Linked DNA regions of Homo sapiens: regions 2, 3, 4 and 5 are each linked to region 1. The links are contacts of gene promoters, found by promoter capture Hi-C in human tissues and cell types (Jung and others, 2019). All regions are on one chromosome and are shown on one strand. Each heading gives the region's core, a stretch centred on a gene start or on the middle of the fragment in contact. The rest is flanking DNA. Distances are from core to core; before and after follow the strand shown.

The links. The method cuts DNA at HindIII sites, captures the fragments that hold promoters and counts their contacts. A contact is called where the count stands out against the background at its distance.
Region 2: a contact is called between the fragment with the promoter of CDK12 here and the fragment with the promoter of FBXO47 in region 1, in 3 of the 25 tissues and cell types used here (adrenal gland, heart left ventricle and mesendoderm cells).
Region 3: a contact is called between a fragment that was not itself captured here and the fragment with the promoter of FBXO47 in region 1, in 1 of the 25 tissues and cell types used here (liver).
Region 4: a contact is called between a fragment that was not itself captured here and the fragment with the promoter of FBXO47 in region 1, in 2 of the 25 tissues and cell types used here (lymphoblastoid cells and small bowel).
Region 5: a contact is called between the fragment with the promoter of STAC2 here and the fragment with the promoter of FBXO47 in region 1, in 10 of the 25 tissues and cell types used here (adrenal gland, dorsolateral prefrontal cortex, liver and 7 more).

The regions. Positions count from the first base shown.
Region 1 is chr17:38,966,001-38,968,729 of GRCh38, reverse strand. FBXO47 (F-box protein 47) reads left to right here and starts at 1,327. Exons shown (of 11, transcript NM_001008777.3): 1 at 1,327-1,501. The HindIII fragment of the contact is 17,690 bases long and covers 1-2,729 here.
Region 2 is chr17:39,460,127-39,462,855 of GRCh38, reverse strand. CDK12 (cyclin dependent kinase 12) reads right to left here and starts at 1,370. Exons shown (of 14, transcript NM_016507.4): 1 at 1-1,370. The coding sequence starts at 784. RefSeq lists enhancers at 589-718, 1-943, 1,109-1,168, 1,259-1,308, 669-1,593. The HindIII fragment of the contact is 12,986 bases long and covers 1-2,729 here.
Region 3 is chr17:39,429,072-39,431,800 of GRCh38, reverse strand. MED1 (mediator complex subunit 1) reads left to right here. Exons shown (of 17, transcript NM_004774.4): 9 at 613-686. Among named protein-coding and RNA genes, the nearest start is that of MED1, 21 kb to the left of the region's middle. The HindIII fragment of the contact is 9,295 bases long and covers 1-2,729 here.
Region 4 is chr17:39,408,091-39,410,819 of GRCh38, reverse strand. MED1 (mediator complex subunit 1) reads left to right here. Exons shown (of 17, transcript NM_004774.4): 17 at 99-2,729. Among named protein-coding and RNA genes, the nearest start is that of FBXL20, 7.8 kb to the right of the region's middle. The HindIII fragment of the contact is 5,074 bases long and covers 1-2,729 here.
Region 5 is chr17:39,224,629-39,227,357 of GRCh38, reverse strand. STAC2 (SH3 and cysteine rich domain 2) reads left to right here and starts at 1,413. Exons shown (of 11, transcript NM_198993.5): 1 at 1,413-1,945. The coding sequence starts at 1,856. RefSeq lists an enhancer at 1,655-2,155. The HindIII fragment of the contact is 22,351 bases long and covers 1-2,729 here.

The sequences.
Region 1 (2,729 bases), core at 78-2,577:
CTGAGGTCAGGAAAAAAAAAGATACAAAGCCAAATGGATGAATATATGTGACTATATAAAATAACAGCATGCCAACTAATCCTAAATTTCCACTCAGTCTTTATGTAGTTCCTTATATATTTTGTGTTGGGTATAATGTAGAATTGATCTACAAAAGTAGAATCTTTCCCCCATTCCCTCTTCCCTCAGCCCTTCTCCTGACTGGCTCCTTCTCCTCCATCAGTTCTCAAATCGTCATATCAAAGGGACCTTGAGTATCAGTCTATCTAAAGTAGCTCTCCGCCAACACACACACACCCCATCATTCTGTCTTATTTCCTCTGTCACGCTGCTCTCACCGGAACTGCTCTCAACATCTGTAGATGCTCTGTCTGTTCATTCTATCTTCCCCATTAGGCTAATAAACTCCATTAAAGCAGGAAACGTATCTGTCTTGTTCTCTATTCCATCCTTAGGGCCTACTCCTGTGCCCGGCCCAGAGCAGGCTTCAATAAATAGTTACAGAATGAATGAAGAAATGAATGAATGAGAATTTAATCTTCTAGCCAGGAAGGCCTAGCTAGAAAGATTTGTCTTGATTTCATCTTGAGAGGATGGAGACACACATCTTCCTTTGATTCCAGACAGATTTATTATTTATGTGTTTATTTAGAGACCGGGAGCGGGGTTATGGCTGGGGGTGGGGGTCTCCCTATGTTGCCCAGGCTGGTCTCAAACTCCTGGACTCAAGGGAGCCTCCCGCCTCGGCCTCCCAAAGTGTTGGGATTACAGGCGTGAGCCACCGCACCGGCAAGACAAATTTAAAAAGGAATGTCTGGAGGTTTTTTTCCACCAAAAGGTTTGATGAAACCCCTTGTAACTTGCCCTACTGGAGTCAGTGGGGGTGGGAGGAACTCAAAAATTGTCTCAAAACTAGGTGAAGGGAAAGGCAGTGGAGCAGAGACGTGGCTCGCCACGTTCAGGATCTTGGGCTACACCCTCCCCTTCCCCACACCGTAACGGCTCCAGCCCCTTCTTGTCTTCAGCTTGGAGCGAAGGGTGGCTGAGGCCTGAGTTTGGGCTCCAGGAACCTCGCCCTTGTTAGTTATTCATGAGACGGAGGGCACCATGGGAGCTGGCTCTCTTGCTATTCATAAAGCGGGGAGGCGGGAGGCGGGGGGGAACCTCCTTCCCGCTAGGGCTTCTGGGAAGATCTACAATATTCATGAGGGAGGCGGGCACTACGAGAGCTGAGGCTGCTTGCTATTCATGAGGGGGCGGGCCTCCTTCCCGCGGGGGCTCTTGGGAAGATTCTACAATATTCTAGAGGCCGCGGGGACGCCTGGTGGGTAGGGCTGCAGCTCCGGAGCCTACGGGAGTGTGACCCTCTCGCCTCCTGGCGGGAAGCTCTTGAGGAGATATTTTCTTTTCTAAACACTAAGAAATTTGAGGATGGTGGGGCAAAACGACTAACTCCCACTTTCCTGTGACTCTGTAGCCGGAAAAACTGTCAAAATCTGTGGTAAAAGAGGGTTTTTTTTCCCAGTATTTTATTGCGATAATTTCATCTTTCATGGACTGAAGGGAGCGAAACATGTACCCCGTGTGGTCTGATTCTCCTGTTGACCAGTTTGTCCTTTAGGCTTCCCTAGTTTGCGGCTTTGGAGATGTTTGGGGGCAGCTGCCCGACAGATGGGGTGGGGCCCTTACAAGAGTTTTATGTTAAAACAGACATCCCTGTGAATGTAGTTTTTATCTTAAAGGTGTGGGGGGCGGGGAGGTTCATCCAATTGAACCCTCAAAACCTTTCACGCGCGGTCAAAATTAGTGGGATAGAACAGGGGGCATGAAACATCATTTTATTATTATTATTTGGGGCTGTGATTCTTATTCGCTAGAGGGGTGAGCGGAAACCAGAAATAATTTAGGATTATACCTTTAGAATTTTCACAAAAGCTTGCTTTTTCCCTACGAAACGTCCAGCTCTGAGTGAGGAAAATAAGGAACTATAAGTGGAGACTTGAGTTTTAGAAGAATTTGGGCTTATCATTTTTAAATTTTTGTTTATATTTATTTTAAACATGTATGTAGTTCACAGTTGACACAGTGAAGTCCCCGCCTGGTGACTGACAGTCTTTGAAGAGCCCACGGGCCCAAGCCCCACTGTCCACATTTCTCAGAGAAACAGGAAGAAGCCAAGGCCGGATTTATGCTATTGTAATAAAAATGCTTTAAAACACCTACTGTGTTGGCCGGGTGCGGTGGCTCACGCCTGTAAATCCCAGCACTTTGGGAGGCCGGGGCAGGCGGATCACGAGGTCAGGAAATCGAGACCAGGCTGGCTAACACGGTGAAACCCCGTCTCTACTAAAAATACAGAAATTAGCTGGGCGTGGGGGCGGGCACCTGTAATCCCAGCTACTAGGGAGGCTGAGGCAGGAGAATCGCTTGAACCCGGGAGGCGGAGCTTGCAGTGAGCCGAGATCGCGCCACTGCACTCCAGCCCAGGAGACTGTGCGAAACTCCATCGCAAACAAACAAACAAAACGCCTACTGTGAAAAGTTAAGGTTACAAACAGCCTTATGGATTAAACAAATTAAGATTATTTTACTTGGTGGAATGACACATAGCCATTAAAATATGATTACTTGTAGAAGGTTATTAGCATGGAAAGAGAATTCATTGAAAAAAGCAGATTACAAAGTATTATATATAGTGATCCCTCTTTTTTGTTAAAAAGAAATATATG
Region 2 (2,729 bases), core at 121-2,620, 490 kb before region 1:
AGGAGTCATAATTGCTCGAGGTATGAGATCGTGAGGGACTAAGGTCATAATCTTGGCCATAAGAAGCTCCCGAGGGGCTATCATCTTGTTTGGAGCTGTCAGACCACTTCCTGTGGGGGCTCCTGGATCTCCGTTTTGGGCTGTCCACTGTTTTGTAACTTTTGGGTGTTTCCCTTTTTCGATGACTTTTACTCCGGTCTTTGTGCCCAGACTTCAGCTCCCGTTCTTTCCTGGTCTTCTCCTTGTGGAGCTTGGATGACCTGGATTCCTTGCTGCTGCTTTTGGCTACCTGCGCCTTCCCATAGTCATCAGTCTCCTCATTCGAACGCTTTGAACTTCCCGATATCCGGTCCTTCATCGATCCCGACTTGCTGGAGACTTCTTGGCTTTTTTCTTTTTCGGTCTGTTTAGCTTTTAGTAAGTCCCGGGAACGCCTGTGCTGGTGGTGACGATGTTTGTGCAGGCGGTCGCTCCGATCTGATCCACGACGTTCGTCGTTCTCCCTTCGGTCTAGTTTGAAGGCCATGTCATCGGAGAAGGTGTCGGAATCAGAGCTGATATCATCATACTCCACCAAAGGTTTGATAACTGTGCCCAGGGATGCTGCTTCGGGGGTCACCAACCCCATGTCTTTGGAGTGTTTGGACTTATGCCGCTTGTGCTTCGATACCAAGCGGTGACGCTCTCTGCTGTTAGAGCTGCCGCCTCCCGATGACGGCTGCAAAGTTCCAGAAGCTCCTCCACTCCCGTCCTTCTTGCCCCCATGTCTCTCTGAATTGGGCATTCCCTTTCCCCTGACCTGAAGAAGGGAAAAAAGTTCCCCAGCACTCCAAAAAGCAACCCCCACCCACCCCCCCAACCCCAACTCCACGCCCACCAAAGCGCCCCGGGAAGGGGGTGGGGAGGGCAGGGACGGTAGCCCAGGCTCCTCCTCCCTCCCGACGCCTCAGCACCCTTCTACATGAGGTGGGGGGTGAAGGAGCGAGGGAAGAAATGAGAGTTCCTCGGCAGTGGAGTTGCGAGACAACGGGGAGCTGCTCAAGTCTGTTTCCTCTTCTCCCTCCGCCGAGCCAGTCCTCAGGCCCGGGCGCCGGGGAGGTCCAGGAAGTGAGAAGCCGACGGCCCGGGGCTGTGGAGCCGACTCCAGCTCTGGGGCCCTGCGAGGACTACGCGGGCCCTTCCCCTACCCGGTAGCCCGGTTCAGGACGGCTTCCTGTCGCCGGGGTGCCGCGGCCTAGGTGCCTCACGCCCCCTTTGTCCCTCGCTCCTGAGGTAGCCCCCTTTCTTGCCTCCGTTTCACCTCCACACCACACACACTCTCTCCCTCACACAGACCCAGTCACACACTAGATTAAACCGAAACGGCACTTGGGGAAGGGGGGAGGGGCAATCCCAGAAATCGTCGCGAGAGTCCAGTAGCCTCTCGCGATGTTTCGTGCTTCGCTTTCACCTCATTCCCCTGCTTATCAAACAACGCGAGATCAGGTCCCAAACTAGAAACGCGTTTCACCTGAGTCTCGCGATGAGCTCCCGGAGCTCCCCGTTTGAGCAAAGCTTTATTGAAACGGAACAAACCGAGTTTTTTTTTTTTAACCAAAACTTTATCGGTAACTGATTAAACAAACACTCCCAGGCTCCGTGACAAAATAATTTCAACATCCTTTTTAACAAATCTTTTAACTACCAGGATGACTTTTTTTTGTTTGTTTTTTGTTTTCCTTTGAGACGGAGTCTCGCTCTGTAGCCCATCCTGGAGTGTTAGTGGCGCGATCTCGGCTCACTGCAACCTCCACCTCCTGGGTTCAAGCGATTCTCCTGCCTCAGCCTCCCGAGTAGCTGGGATTACAGGCGCCCGCCACCACGCCCGGCTAACTTTTTTGTTTTTAGTAGAGACAGGGTTTCACCATGTTGGCCAGGCTGGTCTCGACCTCCTGACCTCAAGTGATCCTCCCGCCTCGGCCTCCCAAAGTGCTAGGATTACAGGCGTGAACCGCCGCGCCGGGCCATTTTTTTGTTTGTTTGAGACAAGTTCTCTCTCTTTTGCCCAGACTGGAGTGCAGTGGCACGATCTCGGCTCACTGCAGCCTCCACCTCCTGGGCTCAAGCAATCCTCCCACCTCATCCTGCCGAGTACTTGGAACTATAGAGTCGCGCCACCACGCCGTGCTAATTTGTTTCTATTATTCGTAGTGATGGGGTTTCGCCATGTTGCCCAGGCTAGTCTCGAACTCCTAGACTCAAGCAATCCGCGATCCTTGGTCTTGAACTCCTAGAATGAAGCAATCTGCCCGTCTGGTCCTCCCAAAGTGGCGGGATTACAGGCTTGAGCCACCGCGCCCGGTTGAGATTATTTTTTACAGAGCAAAAGACAAATGTCGGGACATTTCAACCCAAGTCCCTGAGTGTTTTAACAGTGCTTCCCACATATAGGGTGTGTGCTACCTGCCAAGAATTTTACATACATTATCTCTAATTTTCACAATTATCCTGCAAAACACGAGATTTTCATCCCTGTTTTATAGAAAAGGAATCCCAGCCTCAGGGAAGTTGAATAATTTGGTCCAACAAGTGCCACAGTCAACATTCAAATTCATGTCTTTCTGAGACTAAAACACAAGCTCTTCCATCCTATGGTGTTGTCTCCTTACCAATCTTTGCTTCAAATCTCAGAACCTAAAAGCTCATCCCATCTTGAGATCCTCCCATGGCCGTTATTGGATAATTTAGCC
Region 3 (2,729 bases), core at 58-2,557, 460 kb before region 1:
TGAGTATCAGTATCGCTAAGTTGTTGGTTACCATAGGTTTTATCTCAAGACTCATCAGACCTGGAGTCCCATCTGAGAAATAATAGTCTAAGTGTAATTTTTGTTCACCATACTACATACTGGTGTGTACTTGGAAATAATCCCTTTACTTTGGAGGTGAAATACATTTGCTATATGCCCAATTACAAGACAGAACCATTATGATAGTATTATAAGACTTTGGGCTGGGCGCGGTGGCTCACGCCTGTAATCCCAGCACTTTGGGAGGCCGAGGCGGGCGGATCACCTGAGGTCACGAGTTCGAGACCAGCCTGCCCAATATGGTGAAACCCCGTCTCTACTAAAAATACAAAAAATTAGCTGGGCGTGGTGGCGGGCGCCTGTAATCCCAGCTACTCGGGAGGCTGAGGCAGGAGAATCACTGGAACCTGGGAAGCGGAGGTTGCGGTGAGCTGAGATTGTACCACTGCACTTCAGCCTGGGCGACAAGAGCGAAACTCCGTCTCAAAAAAAAAAAAAGACAAGACTTCGGAGAGGTGAACTCAATATCACAGTGTGTACCAAGACCATCAGGGATTAAATATAAGCAAACATAGATCACTTGTCTTACAGGAAAGCAACTAATGCTGGTCCCTTGGATAAGATTCTTCATGGAAGTGTTGGCTATCTCACACCAAGGAGTGGGGGTACGTGATCCTATTTTGCTTGTTTAGAAACATGTGTAATTTAAGTTGAGGGTCATTACTTTTCATTTCACCTTTAGTTTGTTTGTTTATTTTTTTGAGACAGAGTCTCACTTTGTTGCCCAGGCTGGAGTGCAGTGGCATGATCTCGGCTTACTGCTCCTTCCACCTCCTGGGCTCAAGTGAATCTCATGCCTCAGCCTCCTGAGTAGCTGGGATTACAGGTGTGCACCACAATAGCCAGCTAATTTATTCTATTGTTGGTAGAGACAGGGTTTCACTGTTTTGGCCAGGCTGGTCCTGAACTCCTCGCCTCGACTGATCGGCCTACCTTGGTCTCCCAAAGTGCTGGGATTACAGGCATGAGCCACTGCGCCCAGCCTATTTATTTGTTAATTTTTATTCTGTTTTTTTTTTTTTTTTTTAAGACGGAGTCTTGCTCTGTTGCCCAGGCTGGAGTACAGTGGCGCGATCTCAGCTCACTGCAAGCTCCGCCTCCCAGGTTCACGCCATTCTCCTGCCTCAGCCTCCAGGGTAGCTGGGACTACAGGCGCCCGCCACCACGCCTGGCTAATTTTTTTGTATTTTTTAGTGGAGACGGGGTTTCACAGCGTTAGCCAGGATGATCTCGATCTCCTGACCTCGTGATCTGCCCGCCTCAGCCTCCCAAAGTGCTGGGATTACAGGCATGAGCCACTGCGCCTGGCCAATTTTTATTCTTATGTATTTGTTTATTTTTCTTGAGACAGGCTCTCACCAGGCTGGAGTGCAGTGGCACAATCTTGGATCACTGTAACCTCTGCCTCCTGGGTTCAAGGGATTCTCCTGCCTCAGCCTCCCGAGTAGCTGGGATTACAGGCATGTGCCACCACACCCGACTAATTTTTGTATTTTTAGTAGAGATGGGGTTTCACCATGTTGGCCAGGCTGGTCTCAAATTCCTGACTTCAAGTGATCCTCCCTCCTCGGCTGCCCAAAGTGCTGGGATTACAAACAGGTATTAGCCACTGCACCAATCCCTATTTATTTATTTTTGAGACAGGGTCTTGCTGTGTTGCCCAGGCTGGAGTGCAGTCGTGCAATCATGACTCACTCCAGCCTCAACCTCCTGGGCCCAAATAATCCCCCTAACTCAGTTTCCTGAGTAGCTTGGACTACAGGTACAGGATACCATGCCTGGCTAATTTTTGTTGTTTTATAGAGACATGGTCTTACTATGTTGCCTAGGCTGGTCTTGAACTGGGATCAAGTGATCTTCCTGCCACTGCATTGCAAAGGGTTGGGATTATAAGCATAAGCCACTGCGCCCGGCCTCATCTTGGGGTTTATAAACATATAAGCAGAGGGAGAAAATTGCCAGATATTTGTGTATTTTGTGATGATTTCTTCCTTTTTTTTTTTTTTTTTTTTTTTTTAGGCATTTAGGCAGAGTCTTGCTCTGTCTCCCAGGCTGGAGTGCAGTGGCGCGATCTTGGCTCATTGCAACCTCTGCATCCTGGGTTCCAGCAATTCTCTTGCCTCAGCCTCCCATGTAGCTGGGATTACAGGCACGTGCCACCGTGCCCAGCTAATTTTTGTATTTTTACCAGAGACAGGGTTTCACCATGTTGGCCAGGCTGGTCTCGAACTCCTGACCCTAGGTGAGCTGCCTGTCTCGGCCTCCCAAAGTGCTGGGATTATAGGCGTGAGCCACTGCGCCTGGGCTTTTTGCGATGATTTCTAAGCTGTCAATACCTGTCCTCCCCATTTTTGTTTGTTATCTTTTTGAGACAGAGCCTTGCTATGTCCCTCTGGCTGAAGTACAGTGGCAGAAACATAGCTCACTTCAGCCCTTAACTCTTGGGCTTAAGTGATCTTCCCACCTCAGCCCCCTGAGTAGCTAGGACTTCAGTCAAGTGCCACCATGCCTGGGTAACTTTAACAATTTTTTTAGAGATGGGGGTCTCACTGTGTTGCCTAGGCTAGAGTGCAGTGGTGCAGTCATAACTCACTATAGACTTGAACTCCTGGCTTCAAGTGATCCTCCAGCCTCAGCCTCCCAAAGTG
Region 4 (2,729 bases), core at 61-2,560, 440 kb before region 1:
AAAACTGCTTACTGCAAAACTCTGATGTTATATCTAAATCTCAGGTCTCATTCAGCAGCTATTGCAATGTTAACTTTGTTTTCTTCTTTATTTTGCAGATGTATGTCCATCCCTGTGACGATGAGGGCTATTCGGAGGAAAGCTGAAACCATTCAAGCCGACACCCCAGCACTGTCCCTCATTGCAGAGACAGTTGAAGACATGGTGAAAAAGAACCTGCCCCCGGCTAGCAGCCCAGGGTATGGCATGACCACAGGCAACAACCCAATGAGTGGTACCACTACACCAACCAACACCTTTCCGGGGGGTCCCATTACCACCTTGTTTAATATGAGCATGAGCATCAAAGATCGGCATGAGTCGGTGGGCCATGGGGAGGACTTCAGCAAGGTGTCTCAGAACCCAATTCTTACCAGTTTGTTGCAAATCACAGGGAACGGGGGGTCTACCATTGGCTCGAGTCCGACCCCTCCTCATCACACGCCGCCACCTGTCTCTTCGATGGCCGGCAACACCAAGAACCACCCGATGCTCATGAACCTTCTTAAAGATAATCCTGCCCAGGATTTCTCAACCCTTTATGGAAGCAGCCCTTTAGAAAGGCAGAACTCCTCTTCCGGCTCACCCCGCATGGAAATATGCTCGGGGAGCAACAAGACCAAGAAAAAGAAGTCATCAAGATTACCACCTGAGAAACCAAAGCACCAGACTGAAGATGACTTTCAGAGGGAGCTATTTTCAATGGATGTTGACTCACAGAACCCTATCTTTGATGTCAACATGACAGCTGACACGCTGGATACGCCACACATCACTCCAGCTCCAAGCCAGTGTAGCACTCCCCCAACAACTTACCCACAACCAGTACCTCACCCCCAACCCAGTATTCAAAGGATGGTCCGACTATCCAGTTCAGACAGCATTGGCCCAGATGTAACTGACATCCTTTCAGACATTGCAGAAGAAGCTTCTAAACTTCCCAGCACTAGTGATGATTGCCCAGCCATTGGCACCCCTCTTCGAGATTCTTCAAGCTCTGGGCATTCTCAGAGTACCCTGTTTGACTCTGATGTCTTTCAAACTAACAATAATGAAAATCCATACACTGATCCAGCTGATCTTATTGCAGATGCTGCTGGAAGCCCCAGTAGTGACTCTCCTACCAATCATTTTTTTCATGATGGAGTAGATTTCAATCCTGATTTATTGAACAGCCAGAGCCAAAGTGGTTTTGGAGAAGAATATTTTGATGAAAGCAGCCAAAGTGGGGATAATGATGATTTCAAAGGATTTGCATCTCAGGCACTAAATACTTTGGGGGTGCCAATGCTTGGAGGTGATAATGGGGAGACCAAGTTTAAGGGCAATAACCAAGCCGACACAGTTGATTTCAGTATTATTTCAGTAGCCGGCAAAGCTTTAGCTCCTGCAGATCTTATGGAGCATCACAGTGGTAGTCAGGGTCCTTTACTGACCACTGGGGACTTAGGGAAAGAAAAGACTCAAAAGAGGGTAAAGGAAGGCAATGGCACCAGTAATAGTACTCTCTCGGGGCCCGGATTAGACAGCAAACCAGGGAAGCGCAGTCGGACCCCTTCTAATGATGGGAAAAGCAAAGATAAGCCTCCAAAGCGGAAGAAGGCAGACACTGAGGGAAAGTCTCCATCTCATAGTTCTTCTAACAGACCTTTTACCCCACCTACCAGTACAGGTGGATCTAAATCGCCAGGCAGTGCAGGAAGATCTCAGACTCCCCCAGGTGTTGCCACACCACCCATTCCCAAAATCACTATTCAGATTCCTAAGGGAACAGTGATGGTGGGCAAGCCTTCCTCTCACAGTCAGTATACCAGCAGTGGTTCTGTGTCTTCCTCAGGCAGCAAAAGCCACCATAGCCATTCTTCCTCCTCTTCCTCATCTGCTTCCACCTCAGGGAAGATGAAAAGCAGTAAATCAGAAGGTTCATCAAGTTCCAAGTTAAGTAGCAGTATGTATTCTAGCCAGGGGTCTTCTGGATCTAGCCAGTCCAAAAATTCATCCCAGTCTGGGGGGAAGCCAGGCTCCTCTCCCATAACCAAGCATGGACTGAGCAGTGGCTCTAGCAGCACCAAGATGAAACCTCAAGGAAAGCCATCATCACTTATGAATCCTTCTTTAAGTAAACCAAACATATCCCCTTCTCATTCAAGGCCACCTGGAGGCTCTGACAAGCTTGCCTCTCCAATGAAGCCTGTTCCTGGAACTCCTCCATCCTCTAAAGCCAAGTCCCCTATCAGTTCAGGTTCTGGTGGTTCTCATATGTCTGGAACTAGTTCAAGCTCTGGCATGAAGTCATCTTCAGGGTTAGGATCCTCAGGCTCGTTGTCCCAGAAAACTCCCCCATCATCTAATTCCTGTACGGCATCTTCCTCCTCCTTTTCCTCAAGTGGCTCTTCCATGTCATCCTCTCAGAACCAGCATGGGAGTTCTAAAGGAAAATCTCCCAGCAGAAACAAGAAGCCGTCCTTGACAGCTGTCATAGATAAACTGAAGCATGGGGTTGTCACCAGTGGCCCTGGGGGTGAAGACCCACTGGACGGCCAGATGGGGGTGAGCACAAATTCTTCCAGCCATCCTATGTCCTCCAAACATAACATGTCAGGAGGAGAGTTTCAGGGCAAGCGTGAGAAAAGTGATAAAGACAAATCAAAGGTTTCCACCTCCGGGAGTTCAGTGGATTCTTCTAAGAA
Region 5 (2,729 bases), core at 164-2,663, 260 kb before region 1:
AGAAAATGGGTCCCAGATAATCAACATGCATTAGAAGAGGTATCTTGGTCAGGTGTGGTGGTTCACACCTGTAATCCCAGCACTTTGGGAGGCTGAGGCAGGAGGGTCACTTGAGCCTAGGAGTTTAAGACTAGCCTGGGCAACATAGCGAGACTCCATCTCTACAAAAAATTTTAAAATTAGCTGGGTGCAGTGGCATGTGCCTGTGGTCCCAGCTACTTGGGAGGGTTGAGCCCAGGAGGTCCAGGCTACAGTGAGGTGTGATCAAGCCACTGCACTACAGCCTGGCCAATAGAGCAAGATCCTGTCTCCAAAAAAAAAAAAAAAAAAAAAAAAAAAAAAAGAAGAAGAAGAGAAGGAGAAGAAGAAATATTGGAAATATCTTGAACGGGCACAGTGGCTCACGCCTGTAATCCCAATACGTTGGGAGGCCAAAGTGAGAAGATCGCTTGAGCCCAGGAGTTGGAGATCATCCTGTGTAACATAGCAAGACTTGTCTCTACCAATAAATTTTAAAAATTAGCCAGGCATGGTGGCGTATGCCTGTGGTCCCAGCAACTAGAGAGGCTGAGGTGGGAGGATTGCTTGAGCCTAGGAGTTTGAGACTGCAGTGAGTTATGATCGCACCACTGCACTCCAGCCTGGGTGAAAGAGTGAAACCCTGTCTCTAAATAAAAAAATAAAAAAATAAAAAATAGAAGGTTATTGTGGAGAGAGGGGCACCTTGGAAGGTGATGGTGAGGACCTCTTCCCCCACCTCTCTGTATTATCCCCTGATCTAACTCCAGTTGTGGTAGGATCTTTAGGAGGGGAGCGTGTCTCAGAGAAGTTTGGGGACTTTGGGTGTGAGGACTGAGCCCCCATCTCTGCTGAAGTTCAGACGCCAAGACTGGAAGGGGATAGAGTCATCCGGCTTTCCATCACAAGGAGGAATTGTCCGGCCTGGCCTTTGACACATACACCATAGTCCAGTTGTGTGTATATTTGGAGAGAGCCTTTTCAGGGTATAAAGGCATCCAATTAATGGCACAGATGGGTCCCCATTCTTCCTTCACCAACCTCTGGCATCTATCAATCTTCGCTCTTTGGAAGTCCTAGCTTCGATCTCACTCTCCGCTATCTTGCTGCGGCCCCAACCTATTTCTATTCCCTGCAACCCATCCAGACGCTACTATGATCTCCCCAAGCTTCCCTCAATCTGGTCACGCCCCTCCATCCCGGGTTTTTCAGTGTGAAACTCCCTCCTCCGCTTCTTTCCCCGCCAAGCCCCGCCCCATCGTGTCGAGCCCCCCAAGACTCCGCCCAGTTCGCCCTCCTGGCCACCGAGGCAGCCAATAGCTGAGAGCCTGATTTGCAGGGCTGCGCGGGGGAGCGGCGTAGGGCAGGGGGCGGGACCAGGCGACCTCCTAAATCAAAGTTGGGCGGCGAGGACTGGGCGGAGGGGCCGCCGGGTGCCGGGCTGGGGCCGGCGGGGGAGGGGAGGGGATGGGGGGCGGGCGCAGCGGACGGCGGAGCCGGCTGGACACGGACAGCTCCTTGGCTCCCTCCCTCGGCTCATCCCCGCGGCCCCACTTCCCTCCTCCCCGCGCTGCGAGCAGCATCCTCTGCAGACCCTCGGTCCTCGCGCCCGGGGTCGTCCCGCTCCTGCGGCTCAGCGTGGTGGCCTCCCCTCGCCCGCCACCCCGGCAACTTTCTCTGCCCGCTCCCGCGGGTTGGGGGCTGCCGTGCCGGGGGCTAACTGGGGGCAGCCTCTGGAGAACGGCTTCAGAGTCCCGGAGACGCCCGCCACCCGCAGCCTGCCCGCGGTGGGCCTGCCGTCGGATCTCGGCACCCTCTCCTCCCCTCTCCCCGAACCATGACCGAGATGAGCGAGAAGGAGAACGAACCGGATGACGCGGCCACCCACAGCCCCCCAGGGACCGTCTCCGCCCTCCAGGAAACCAAGGTAACTTGGGGGGCGCAAGGCCTGTCCGCGCCCCGGGCCCGGGCGCCCTCTTCCCGGCGGGGTCCTCCTGTGGGCCCGGGCGTCCTAGGGTCGCGGTCGCGAGGCCCGCGTGACCACTGAGGCTCCGCGCCGCTCCCGGGGGTAGGAGTGGGTTGGCGACGAGGGGCCACAAGGAGCCCCCGATCACACCGGCACCGCACGCCCGCGCGCGCCATCGCGACCTTCTGGGGAGGCGGCCACTGGTCTTCGTTGGAGAGATGGGCGCAGCGAGGCCGGAGGGCGCGCGTGGAGCGGTGCGGGCGGGGTACGCGCCCGGCTGTGCGTGCGAGGCGCACCCTCCAGCGGCCGCCGGGTCCCAGTCCCGGGCTCAGTCCGCGCCTCTATCCTCGCTCGTGTCTCTGAATTTGTCTCTACAACCTGCGTGTCTGTGTCTTGGTGTCTCTGTGTGCGTCTCTCCCCGTCTCTCCCGGCGTCTCCGGGTGTTTATCTCCGCGTCTCAGGGCGTCTCTCCCTGCCCCTCCGCAGTCCTGCATTCCCCGCTCCTAGCCCTGTTGGGCTCGGGGACGCGAGGCCGCGGCCGGGGGTGCGCAGCTGCGGAGTCCGCGAGGGGGCCTGCAGCAGCGCCGGCCGTCGGTCACGGGCGAGGACGGGGGCCTGCGGTTGTGGCTCCAGACCAGAAAGACAGGCAGCCCCGCGCCCCACCACGGGAGCGGGACCAGAGGAGGGGGAGCGGGTAGAAGCAAAAAGAGAAGTCATCGTAATTAATGAATGTCATCATTAACCC